Linked DNA regions of Homo sapiens: region 1 is linked to region 2. The links are contacts of gene promoters, found by promoter capture Hi-C in human tissues and cell types (Jung and others, 2019). All regions are on one chromosome and are shown on one strand. The core of a region is centred on a gene start or on the middle of the fragment in contact, and the rest is flanking DNA. Distances in the headings are between cores, read along the strand shown.

The links. The method cuts DNA at HindIII sites, captures the fragments that hold promoters and counts their contacts. A contact is called where the count stands out against the background at its distance.
Region 1: a fragment that was not itself captured here is called in contact with the fragment with the promoter of NSUN4 in region 2 in 1 of the 25 tissues and cell types used here (hippocampus).

The regions. Positions count from the first base shown.
Region 1 is chr1:44,726,098-44,732,256 of GRCh38, reverse strand. RNU5D-1 (RNA, U5D small nuclear 1) reads left to right here and starts at 1,087; the gene lies at 1,087-1,188. RefSeq lists a silencer at 2,868-2,917. The HindIII fragment of the contact is 5,181 bases long and covers 1-4,790 here.
Region 2 is chr1:46,337,252-46,343,392 of GRCh38, reverse strand. It overlaps NSUN4 (NOP2/Sun RNA methyltransferase 4), which reads right to left and starts at 2,586. Exons shown (of 6, transcript NM_199044.4): 1 at 2,474-2,586. The coding sequence starts at 2,566. RefSeq lists enhancers at 1,299-1,388, 2,516-2,725, 3,386-4,185. The HindIII fragment of the contact is 4,996 bases long and covers 977-5,972 here.

The DNA.
Region 1 (6,159 bases), core at 951-3,450, 1.6 Mb after region 2:
GTTTGTTCAGATTATTCTTGGCCTCTGTGTGACATTCATTCCCTGTGGGCATAAGGCAGGACACTGGTCACACGAAGGTCTTCATGGGAGAAGAGAAGGAAAAGGTCAAAAATAACTTCCTGCTTATATAGTTTTCTCAGTTTCTTTGATGGCTTAAAATACTCAGTATGCCAAGGTGCCATATGTTGGGGTATCATGTTCTAAGCCCTGACACCTCTGTAACAACTCAGAATTTCTTCTCCGGGCTTCCTTCAGGTAAGGTGAAAATAAACTTCTTGCTTGTTCAAGCTACTCTTTTTGGAGTCTTTGTTACATACTGTGGAAGGCAGAGGGATGATACAAAATTCAGTATTTGCTATGATGTGGTTTTCTTTTCTTTTCTTTTGAGGTGGAGTCTCCTGTTGCCCAGGCTGGAGTGCAGTGGTGCAGTCTCGGCTCATTGCAGCCTCCGCCTCCTGGGTTCAAGCAATTCTCCTGTCTCAGCCTCCCAAGTAGCTGTGACTACATGCGAACGCCACAACGCCCAGCTAATTTTTGTATTTTTAGTAGAGACGGGGTTTCACCATGTTGGCCAGGATGGTCTCGATCTCCTGACCTCGTGATCCGCCCGCCTCGGCCTCCCAAAGTGCTGGGATTACAGGCGTGAGCCACCGCGCCAGGCCTATGAATACAATTATTTTAAAGCTTTTAATTTTTTTTTTTTTTACTTTAAGTGCCAATTATAAAATAAAGTCACTGTCTAGTTGGACCAGGCATCTACAGTTCTGTAAATCTGGCTTCCGCTCTGCCCCCTGGTGGTGGCCTAACGCCTAGAAAAAGTAACGAACTATTTAAGGTATTTCTGGAAACCGAGGGGGTGGTGACTCAGCGTCATTTACATACCCACAATGCACTGCACACAGACCACGTCCTACTTTAAAAGGAGATTCTCCCTTTTTTCCCCCTCTTTTCCTTTACCATAATAACGAAGCTCCTTTCACACAATCGTCTGAGACAAAAACAGAAGTCACTCTTTTGGGTTAATAGTAACCATTGCTAATCTAGTAGTGACCGTCCCCCGAGGACTGTGTGCAACCATTCCAACACATGCTCTGGTTTCTCTTCAAATCGTATAAATCTTTCGCCTTTTACTAAAGATTTCCGTGGAGAGAAACCGTTTTGAGTTTCAAGCAAATTTTTTGAAGCCCTATGTTGGTGGGGTTCATCAACGGTGTTTAAAAATCAGATAGAAAGTTGTGTGTTTGTTGCGAGGTGTGAGACAACATTTTGTTTGAACATTTATTTTGGGCTGTTGTAATGGTGTGAGTGTGCGTTTTTTATTTTTTTGGAAGTGGGGTTTTAGACTAGACTGTAGTGAGCAATCTTTGCCTGCCGGCTTCAAGGGATTTTCCTGCTTCAGTCTCTCAAGTAGCTGGGGCTACAGGTGGCAACACCATTCCCTGTTAGTTTTTGTATTTTAATAGAGATGGGGATTTCCCACATTGGCCAGGCTGATCTGCCCGCCTTGGCCTCCCAAAGTGCTGGGATTACAAGCATGAGCCACCGTGCGAAAATTTGGTTTTGTTTTGTGGTTTTGTTTTGTTTTGTTTTTAATTAATTTATTCTAGAAACGGTCTCACTGTGTCACTCAGTCTGGAGTGCAGTGGCACGATTATAGCTCACTGCGGCCTTAAACTCCTGGCCTCAAGTGATCCACCCACCTCAACCTCCCGTGAGCCACCGCTTCCCGCTTGGCCAGTTTAGTTTTTAAAGGGTTTTTTTTTTTTTTAAATTATGATCACTTTAGCCCAGTGGTTCCTAGATTTTTGGATTTCCCAATTATTAAAATTTCCGAAAAAGTTCTGGGGTACTATTTTTTTACCATTATACAAAAGAAAACATTTCAAGACTAAAAACTAAAACCAAACAATGACCAAAAATAAAAAGAAAAAAAAGACTAAAAACTAAAAATGACTTGATCTCTCAGCCTGACGCGGTGGACGCGGTGGCTCACACCTGTAATCCCAGCACTTTGGGAGGCCAAGGCGGGTGGATCACTTGAGGTTAGGAGTTCAAGACTAGCCTGGCCAACATGATGATATCCCGTCTTTACTAAAAACACAAAAATTAGCTGGGCGTGGGCATGGCGGCAGGCGCCTGTAATCCCAGCTACTTGGGAGGCTGAGGCAGAGAATCGCTTGAACCCAGGAGGCGGAGGTTGCAGTGAGCCGAGATTGCGCCACTGCACTCCAGCCTGGGAGACAGAGTGAGACTCCGTCCCCAAAAATAAAATAAAATAAATAAAATAAAATAAAATAAAATAAAATAAAAAAATAAGGCCAGGCGTGGTGGCTCACGCCTGTAATCCCAGCACTTTGGGAGGCCGATGCGGGTGGATCACAAGGTCAGGAGTTCAAGACCAGCCTGGCCAACATGGTGAAACCCCATCTCTACTAAAAATACAAAAATTAGCCGGGCGTGGTAGCGCATGCCTGTAATCCCAGCTACTTGGGAGGCTGAGGCAGGAGAATCTCTTGAACCCGGGAGGCGGAGGTTGCAGTGAGCCGAGACTGCGTCACTGCACTCCAGCCTGGCAAAAGAGCGAGACTCCGTCTCAAAAATAAATAAATAAATAAATAAATAAATAAAATCAGCAAAAATAAAATAGGAAATCCATTTAGCTTTAAAGAAAACATAACAACAAAACATAAATATATTTTGTTAACTTTTCTCTCCTTTGTAGGTACAAAAAGAGGAAAGCTGAGGCTCAAAATAAGTGGGGAAAGCAGAACTGCCTTAGACCAACAATGTCAGGGCTGGTGATGCCCTCTTGTGGCATCCTGGAGAATTACTGCCATCTGACTTCATTTCCTCCGACTTGGAGGGACTATTCCCTCACAATACCTCAGTCACTGATTCATGCATGCCAGGTATTGTCCTAACAGTATCCCTGTCCTCGTGGAGTTTACAGTCAGATGGAGGACATACTATTAATAAACATAATAAGGTAATGCTATGGAAAAAAATAGCAGAGTAAGGTGGGAGGGGAGGTGGTGAGTATAGAGAATGGTAGTGTGCATTGCAATTTTAAAAAGAGTAGGCCTTCTTGTAGAGTTGAAGGGAGATGGGGGAGTGAGCCCTGTGGATATATGGGATGAAGTTCTAGGCAGAGTGAACAGTCAGTACAATAGCGTTGAGACAAGAGCTTGTTTGCCAATTTCTTTTTTTCTTTTTCTTTTTTTGAGACGGCGTCTTGCTCTGTCGCCCAGGCTGGATGGAGTGCAGTGGCGCGATCTCGGCTCACTGCAAGCTCCGCCTCCCGGGTTCACGCCATTCTCCTACCTCAGCCTCCTGAGTAGCTGGGACTACAGGTGCCCGCCACCACGCCCGGCTAAGTTTTTGTATTTTTAGTAGAGATGGGGTTTCACTGTGTTAGCCAGGATGGTCTCCATCTCTTGACCTCGTGATCTGCCCACCTTGGCCTCCCAAAGTTCTGGGATTACAGGCGTGAGCTACCGCGCCCGGCCTCTTTGCCAATTAAAAAAAAAAAAAAAAAAAAAAGAACCAGCAAGGGAGTCCAGTGTGTCTGGAGCAGAGTGAAGGACAGACAGAGGCAGAAGAGTTTAGAGAGGTGATGGGAAACCTGAGCACCTAGGGTCTTCATTCAGCGAAATGGGGAGCCCTCCAAGGTTTGAGCCCAGTGATAGAATCTGAAGCTTAAAAGGATAACCCTGGCTGTCGTATTAAAAAGAGAACAGGTATTGACTGGGCACAGTGGTTCACGCCTGTGATCCCAGTACTTTGGGAGGCTGAAGTGAGTGGATAATTTGAGGTCAGGAGTTTGAGACCAGCTTGGCCAACATGGTGAACTCCTGTTTCTACTAAAAATACAAAAATTGGCTAGGCGTGGTGGCAGAAGCCTGTAATCCTAGCTACTCGGGAGGCTGAGGCAGGAGAATTGCTTGAGCCCAGGAGGTGGTGGGTGCCAGTGAGCCTAGATCACACCACTGCACTCCAGCCTGGGTGACAGAGTGACATTTCATCTCAAAAAAAAAGAAACTAAAAGAAAAGAGAACAGGAAGAGGGAGAAAAGCAGAATAACGTTGAAGAGAGATGATAGTGGCTCAGCCCAGAGTATTAACAATAGAGGTAGTGAGATATGGTTGGATTCTGGATGTATTTGGAAGATAGAGCCAACAGACATAATAGATATGGGTGCTAAAGACGGACATTAAAAAGCACTCCACTATTTTGTTTTGTTTTATAGGAAGGATGAGTTGCCATGAGTTGAATTGGGGAAAGTGGCACGGGATTAGGAGTTCAGTTTTAGACACGATGAGGTGGAAATGTTTAGCTGGAAATAGAAATGTAGGAGTCATTGGCCTATAATGATATTTAAAGTTCTGAGACAGGATGAAATCAGCAGGGTGTAAAAGCAGATAGAAGAGAGACTCCAGACCAGGAGCCCTGCCTCACTCCAACTTGAATGAGACTGGATTGAAGAGGAGAAATCTTCAAAAGAAAAAACAACACCATGCACACTCAGGCCAGGCACAGTGGCTCATGCCTACAATCCCAGCACTTTGGGAGGCCAAGGCAGGAGGATCACTTGAGCCCAGGAGTTGGAGACCAGCCTGGACAACATAGTGAGACCTCATCTCTACAAAAAAAGAAAAAAATATTAGCTGAATGTGGTCGTGGTGCACATCTGTAGTCCCAGCTACTCCGGAGGCTGAGGCATGAGAATTGCTTGAGCCTGGGAAGCAGAGGTTGCAGTGAGTCGAGATTGCACCCCTGCACTCCAGCCTGAGCAACAGAGACCCTGTCTAAAAAAAAAAAAAAAAAAAAAAGCTGGGTGTGGTGGCTCACGCCTGTAATCCCAGCACTTTGGGAGGCTGAGGCGGGCAGATCATGAGGTCAGGAGTTCGAGACCAGCCTGGCTAAGATGGTGAAACCCCATCTCTACTAAAAATACAAAAGTTAGCTGGGTTTGGTAGTGCATGCCTGTAGCCCCAGCTACTCAGGAGGCTGAGGTTGCAGTGAGCCGAGATTGTGCCACTGCATTCCAGCCTGGTGACACAGCGAGACTCCGTCTCAAAAAAAAAAAAAAAAAAAAAAAAAGACTATGCACACTCCAGCCCCTCCTGGAAGAACCTACCTTTTTCCAGAAATCCTCAACCCAGTCTCCACCTACCTGCCCTAAGTTCCCTTGAGACTCCCTTTTTACCAGGCCCCTCCCCCTGGGAGAAGGTGCTTTGAGCATGAGCTCCCCTTCCTCCATTCCTATGATGTAAGGTTTTCTTCTTGGTCACTTTGCAAGCTGGGGACCTCTGGCCAGCAATGCCCTGCCAGGTCTCACTCGCCAGGCTACCTGCTGCAGGAGATGGCCTTTACTTGCTGCAGGAGACGACCCACCCGCTCAGTCCAGTTGGCGGAGTCTAGCTTATGCACTGGTTCCCGAGTTCTCGTCCCACGAGCCCAAGAAGAATGAGGATGCACTGGCAATTGAAGAGTGAGCAAGGTGGGGTTTTACTGAGTGATAAAACAGCTTTCGGTGGCTGTGGGGGGTGGTCCCCCTACCTGAAAGTGGGAAAGTCCCCCTAATATGGCTGAGTCCAGGGCTTCTATGGGCTCAGAATGGGGGAAGGGCAGGCCATAGGTAGTATTGGAAAAGGCAACATTCAATTGGTTAAAAGGCATTATTCAGAAAGAATCAATCAGGAAAGGGCAGGCAAACAGAAACAGAAGTTCTCACTCTGGGTTGTGGGTTTCATCCAGGACCAGCAGTCGGTCTTTCAGCCTTCAGGCTGTTTTTGGTTTGAAGGTGGGGTTCACTGGGGACCCACCCCTATCTGCCTAGGCATTTGGCTGCCTCCTGTTGCTATCTCCTAGATCAATGAATAAAGCTTCTGCTCTGCTTTATGGAACCTGGCCTTGTTCTATTGGTGCAAATGGTTCCAGGCAAGGAAAGGACCCATTAGGATCAAACGACCCCCTTTAATGTCTGTAACAACCGGAGAAAAACCAGGTAGGTAGGGTGTTCTGGAGGAAAGGGTGCATAGGCCATCAGGGAGTGGAGGTGAGGCCCTCTATTCAGGCTATGCCCTTGAACCTTCTAGGGTGTTGGTGGCCCTTCCCTCTGGATCTGCTTTTTTTTTTTTTTTTTTTTTTTGAGAATGA
Region 2 (6,141 bases), core at 1,337-3,836:
GGTAGATATGGAGGCCACAGGGGACAGTATCAGGGTAGGCCCGGACTCGGGGGACAATGGGTAAACTTTGAGGATCAAAGGGTGTTCTCAAAGGGATAAAAGAATAGATGTGGGTAGAACAAGGAGGCATCACAGGCTGACAACGAGGTTGGGGTGGGCCCCTGGGAGTGCTATAGGTGTCACACAGGGGCACAATGGGAGGGGGGCCTGTCGAATGATTGAGGGAGCCAGACAGTGGGCAGGGATGGGGGGTGGAGGGAACCACAGAGCATATATGGGTATTGCAGGGGGGCCCTATGGAGGGTCCATGGCGGCTGCTCTGAGCATAACTATTGGCCGAGACAGGATCACAAGGAAGGCAGAGGGGAAAAGAAGTGGGGATAACACTTTTGAGAGCTCTAGGGACCACAGTCAGTAAGGTAGTCCCTGGGGGAAGTTCTTTGGGGCTGGAATTTGAAGGAGTTGTGATGTATGGCTGCATACAAGAAGGACCAGAGAGGCAGGAGGGAGGTGGGGGACAGGTGTGGGCCTTAGCGGGCTTGGGCTGGCCAGAAGGGGTGTGCTGGGGAGTGTTGACTAGGGAGAGACATTTGTGGGGAGTATGTGACTGTCTTAACTCTGGGGACTTAGGGGACTTCGGTTGGGGGGAAACTGGAGTGGGAAGAGGGGGTTCATTATAGCTTCTGCGGGGAAGTGACTGGGGTGGAGATATAAACTGGTTGCCCAGGGGTGAAGGGAAGGAAAGGACAGAATGAGGACCATGGGGACGAGATGGTTCCTGGGAACAGGGGGGACCAGAAGTTGTGGTGTCCGGGGTTAGGATGAGGTAAGAGTTCCCAGTTGCCTCCCAGGAGAGAAGGGACTCAATGCAAGCCTTCCTGGGAGCCTGGGACTGGGGTGAGCAAGGAGAATCAGTACTCCCGGGGCACAGGCAGATGGCATAGCAAGGACTCCCAGGGGTAGGTATGTAGGCCTCTGAGGAAAGATGGGAGTAATGATAAGAGCCCTCCTGAGGTGAGCTGGGAGAGCCAGGCATGCCTGCCTGAGAAGAGAGTGGGAAGCCACAACAATTTTTCTCAAGGGGCAGGTCAAGCTGTGGTTTGGGTTCACAAGAGTCTAGAGGCTTAAGGCTGCCATGGTAAAAGCTGCCAGTAGGTGGGGAAGATGCTGGGGAGAGAAGGGGGTCATTATAACTTCTCCCTGAGAACCAGTGAGAGGGCAGAGAGATCATCAGCCCAGTTTCCAAAACTCTGTGAGAAAGGGTTGGGGAGGCCATAGGACTAGTTTCCACCGGCCGGCGAGCAAGAGGAGGTGAAATCGTGAGGCAAGTTCCCGGGGTCCTATGTGTAGGAGGAGGCGAAATCATGGGTCCAGTTTCCAAGGGTACATGAGTGAGCTGAGGGGAGGTCACTGGGCTCGTTCCCGGGGACTGATGAGCAAGGGGAAAGGAGGTTGCCGGGCTGGTTCCAAAAGCTGAAGGCCATCCGCTAGAGTAACAGAGATTAGTGTGCTGGTCACAGTACGTGCCTTGAAGACAGGGACGCCGCATTCTGGAGGGACTCATCCAGCTGCAATAAGGTGTCCGCTGACAGAGAGGGGGTGACCCCGGAATGCTGAACTGCTCAAAATAAGGGCTGGAGAGTGGGGAACCCGAGTGGCAGGGCTAGCGGCAGTAGGTCCTTTCCAGGAGTGGGGAAGAGGACTCAAAAGACCATCTCCCTGAGTGCGAGGAAGGTTGTGGGGGTGGAAGAGATGGTGGAGGTGGCGAGGGAATCGGCTGGGGTGGGCAGGGGGGCGTGCCGGTCATAGAAGAAATTCCAGGGCTTCCAGTGAGGCAAGAAAAAGGGTCTCTGGAGAAGCAAGGAGAGTCCAGAGGATGAGAGGATTCGTTGCACCTTTTGCCAGGGTTTGGGCCGGCAGTATGGACAGGGTGGTCGCTGTAACCTTGCCCGGTCGCCAGAGGCAGCTCGAGGTTGAGGAAGGGGCTGAATCCTTTCCTGCAAGGCGGCGGAGACCCAGGAGTGCAGGCAAGGTCGCTATGGTATTTTCCGAGGGGTGAGGGCGACCGGGCTGGAAAATCAATGAGGAAAGGAGAAGTCATGTGGGGGAAGAATGGGCAAGGGAAAGGGGGAGGGGAGGGAGGGAAGTAAAAGGGGGAGTGGGGGACAGAAAGGTAGGTGGACACAGCTGGGGAACAAGAGACAGTGACATCACTAAAAGAATGAAGGCGAAGGTGATGACGCAACTTGGGCGGAGTCAGGAGACTGCAGACGTAACAAGTGGAAGACACTAACGCTCGGGACATAGAGTGCGGACAGAGGCGGTGACGGAAAAGACGAGAGAGGGAGGTGCCTAAGGACGTTCCGTGGAGTGCTTGGGAAAGACGCTAGGCGTTCTAGAGGGCCGGGAAACGGAAAGACTGGAGAAGTTTCCACCCTCACTTTTCCCTCCTGCGCCCCCAGCCGGACCTTACCCATTTCTTCTTATATCGATGTCTCCGCGGGACCGTCGCGAGGTCCACACGCTTCAGCAGCTCCCGGACACCCCTCAGTGTCAGCGCAGCCATATCGGCGTGCTCCACGGGGTAATTCCGACCGGAACCGCGACAGGAGACTCGCGTGTTCCGGGGAGGTGGTGAGCGCCACCCGGCGGGACACGAGCGAAAAAAGGGAAAGGAAATACATCTGACGCTCTCCCAGGACTCCGCGCGCCTCTACAGACTCCGCCCAGCCAGGAGTCCCCTGAAGGCTGCTGGAAAAAGAGCAACCTGGCACCCGGAATAATGACTCTGCCTGGATGCTTAGAGCAGTGCGAGGGACTCCCAAGAAGCCCCTAGCCCACTTGGGGGACCAGGGAGGATTAGGAGTTGGTGGTTGAGTACCGAAAGAGTTAGCTAGGCGAAAAGGGGCGGGAAGGGCCTCCTAGGCCGAAATTGCATGGAGGAAGATCCTTAGGTAGAGGAAAATGAGACCAGGCTTGTAGGCAGAAGCAGATTTGCAGTGAAACAAATGAAGCTTAAGTTTCGGGACCTGGCCGGGCGTGGTGGCTCACGCCTGTAATCCCAGCACTTTGGGAGGCCGAGGCGAGCAGATCACGAGGTCAGGAGATCGAGACCCTCCTGGCTAACACGGTGAAACCCCGTCTCTACCAAAAATACAAAAAATTAGCCGGGCGAGGTTGCTGGCGCCTGCAGTCCCAGCTACTCGGGAAGCTGAGGGATGGCGTGAACCCGGGAGGCGGAGCTTGCAGTGAGCCCAGATCGCGCCACTGCACTCCAGCCTGGGCGACAAAGCGAGACTCCGTCTCAAAAAAAAAAAAAAAAAAAAAAAAAGTGGAGGCGTGAATAACCCACCCCTTGTTTAGCGTACCATCAAGAAATAACCATAAAAATGGGCAAGCAGCCCTTGGAGCTGCTCTATCTATGGACTATCCATTCTTTTATTCTTGTACTTTAATAAACTTGCTCTCACTTTGCATTGCGGACTCGCCCTGAATTCTTTCTTGTGCGAGATCCATGAACCTCTCTTGGGGTCCGGATCGGGACCCCTTTCTGGTAACAATGCCTGTAATCCCAGCCAATCTCCCTGCCTTTTGATCTCCCTGCCTCACTCCTACCCACCCTGATAATTGGCTGTTGAATGATCATTTAAAAACACAGTTTCTGATCATGTCCCTCCTCTCCACTGGATCCCTACTGGTGATGTCAAATGTTGTGGGGCCTAACGCTTCCGCAATTTGAGAAGACATAGTTAAGAAAAATAATACAAAACTTGGCCGGGCGCGGTGGCTCACGCTGCCCCCAGCCGAAAGCTTTTTCTTATTTGGCATTTGAATGTGGAATTTTGGAATTTTCTTATTGGCAACAAATACTGTCAGTTATTTTCCTTGAAGTGACAGGCTCACTTTGTTCATTTTTCAAGAAAAAGGCTGGCCGGCACTGTGGCTCATTCCTGTAATCCTAGCACTTGGGAGGCCGAGGTGGGTGGATCACCTGAGGTCAGGAGTTGGAGACCAGCCAGGCCAACGTGGTGAAACCCAGTCTCTACTAAAAATACAAAAATTAGTTGGGCATGGTGGCTCATGCCTGTAATCCCAGCTACTTGGGAGGCCGAGGCAGGAGAATAACTTGAAACCAGGAGGCAGAGGTTGCAGTGAGCTGAGATCATGCCACTGCACTCCAGGCTGGGCAACAGAGTGAGACTCTGTCTCAAAAGAAAAATTCTAGTATATTAAAATATAATTGATTTTTTCTGTTGACCTTGTATCCTGAGACCTTCCTAAACTCAATTATTACTTTTGGTAACTTTTTGGAAATCTGTTCAGGTTTTCTATGCATATGGTCATGTCTTTTGTAAATAAAGACACTTTAACTTCTTTCTTTTCTATCTATATCCCTTTTTTTTTTCTTTGCTTTATTCCACTGGCTAGGACTTCCAGTACACAGTTGAATGTAAGTGGTGATGGTAGGCATCCTTGCCTTGTTCCCATTCTTAAGAAGAAAGCATTTAGTACTTCACCATTATATATGATGTTAGCTGTAGTTTTGTGTGTGCGTGTACCTGCATGTGTATAGATGTCCTTTCTTAGGTTTAGAAAGTTCCCTTCTGTTCCTAGTTTGCTGAGATTTTAAAAAATCATGATAGTTGTTGATTTTCCTTAAGTTTTTTTTTTTTTTCTGTTAAGATGATCATACAGTTTTACTCCTTTTTTTTTTTTTTCTTTTTGACGGAGTTTCGCTCTGTCACCAGGCTGGAGTGCAGTGGTGCCATCTCGGCTCACTGCAACCTCCGCCTCCTAGGTTCAAGCAATTATTCTGCCTCAGCCTCCTGAGTAGCTGTTATCACAGGCATGCACCACCACGCCTGGCTAATTTTTGTATTTTTAGTAGAGATGGGGTTTCACCGTGTTGGCCAGGCTGGTCTCGAACTCCTGATCTCAGGTGATCCGCCCACCTCCCAAAGTGCTGTGATTAGGTGTGAGCCCCTGCGCCCAGCCAGTTTTACTTCTTTATTCCATTACTATGATGCATCATGTTGACTGACTTTTCAATATGAACCAACTTTGCATTCTTGTAAAAAACACATCAATTCATGATACAAATACAGTATTTTTTTTCTTTTAGACAGAGTCTTGCTCTGTCACCCAGGCTGCAGTGCAGTGGCACAATCTTGGCTCACTGCAACCCACGCCTCCCAGGTTCAAGCGATTCTTCTGCCTCAGCCTCCTGAGTAGCTGAGACTACAGGTGCAGGCCACCACGCCCAGCTAATTTTTATATTTTTAGTAGAGTCAGGGTTTTGCCATGTTGGCCAATCTGGTCTTGAACTCCTGACCTCAGGTGATCCACCCACCTTGGCCTCCCAAAGTGCTGCGATTACAGGTACGAGCCACTGCGCCCAGCCGATGATACAGTATTCTTTTTAAATATTGTTGGGATTCTTTTTTGTGTGTGTGTGTGTGTTTTTTTTTTTTTTTGAGACGGAGCCTTGCTCTTTCACCCAGGCCGGAGTGCAGTGGCGCTATTTCTGCTCACTGCAAGCTCCGCCTCCCGGGTTCACGCCATTCTCCTGCCTCAGCCTCCCGAGTAGCTGGGACTACAGGCGCCCGCCACCGCGCCCGGCTAATTTTTTGTATTTTTAGTAGAGATGGGGTTTCACTGTGTTAGCCAGGATTGTCTCGATCTCCTGACCTCGTGATCCGCCCGCTCCGGCCTCCCAGATTGTTGGGATTCTTGGGTCTGAGTTAATGAGTCGTATTTGCCTGCAGTTTTTTCTTCTTATAAAGTCTTTGTTTGATTCTGATATCAGGGTAATGCTGGCCTCATAAAATGAATTTAGGAAATGTCCCTTCACTTCTATTTTCTTTTTTTTTTTTAATTTTTTCTTTTTTTGAGTTGGAGTTTCCTTCTTGTTGCCCAGGCTGGAGTGCAATGGCATGATCTCGGCTCACTGCAACCTCCGCCTCCCAGGTTCAAGCGATTCTCCTGCCTCAGCCTCCTGAGTAGCTAGGATTACAGGCACCCGCCACCGCACCTGGCTAATTTTTTTTTCTTTTGTATTTTTAGTAGAGACAGGGTTTCACCATGTTGGCCAGGCTGGTGATTTTTTTTTTTTTTTTTTTTTTTTTTTTTTTTTTGAGACGG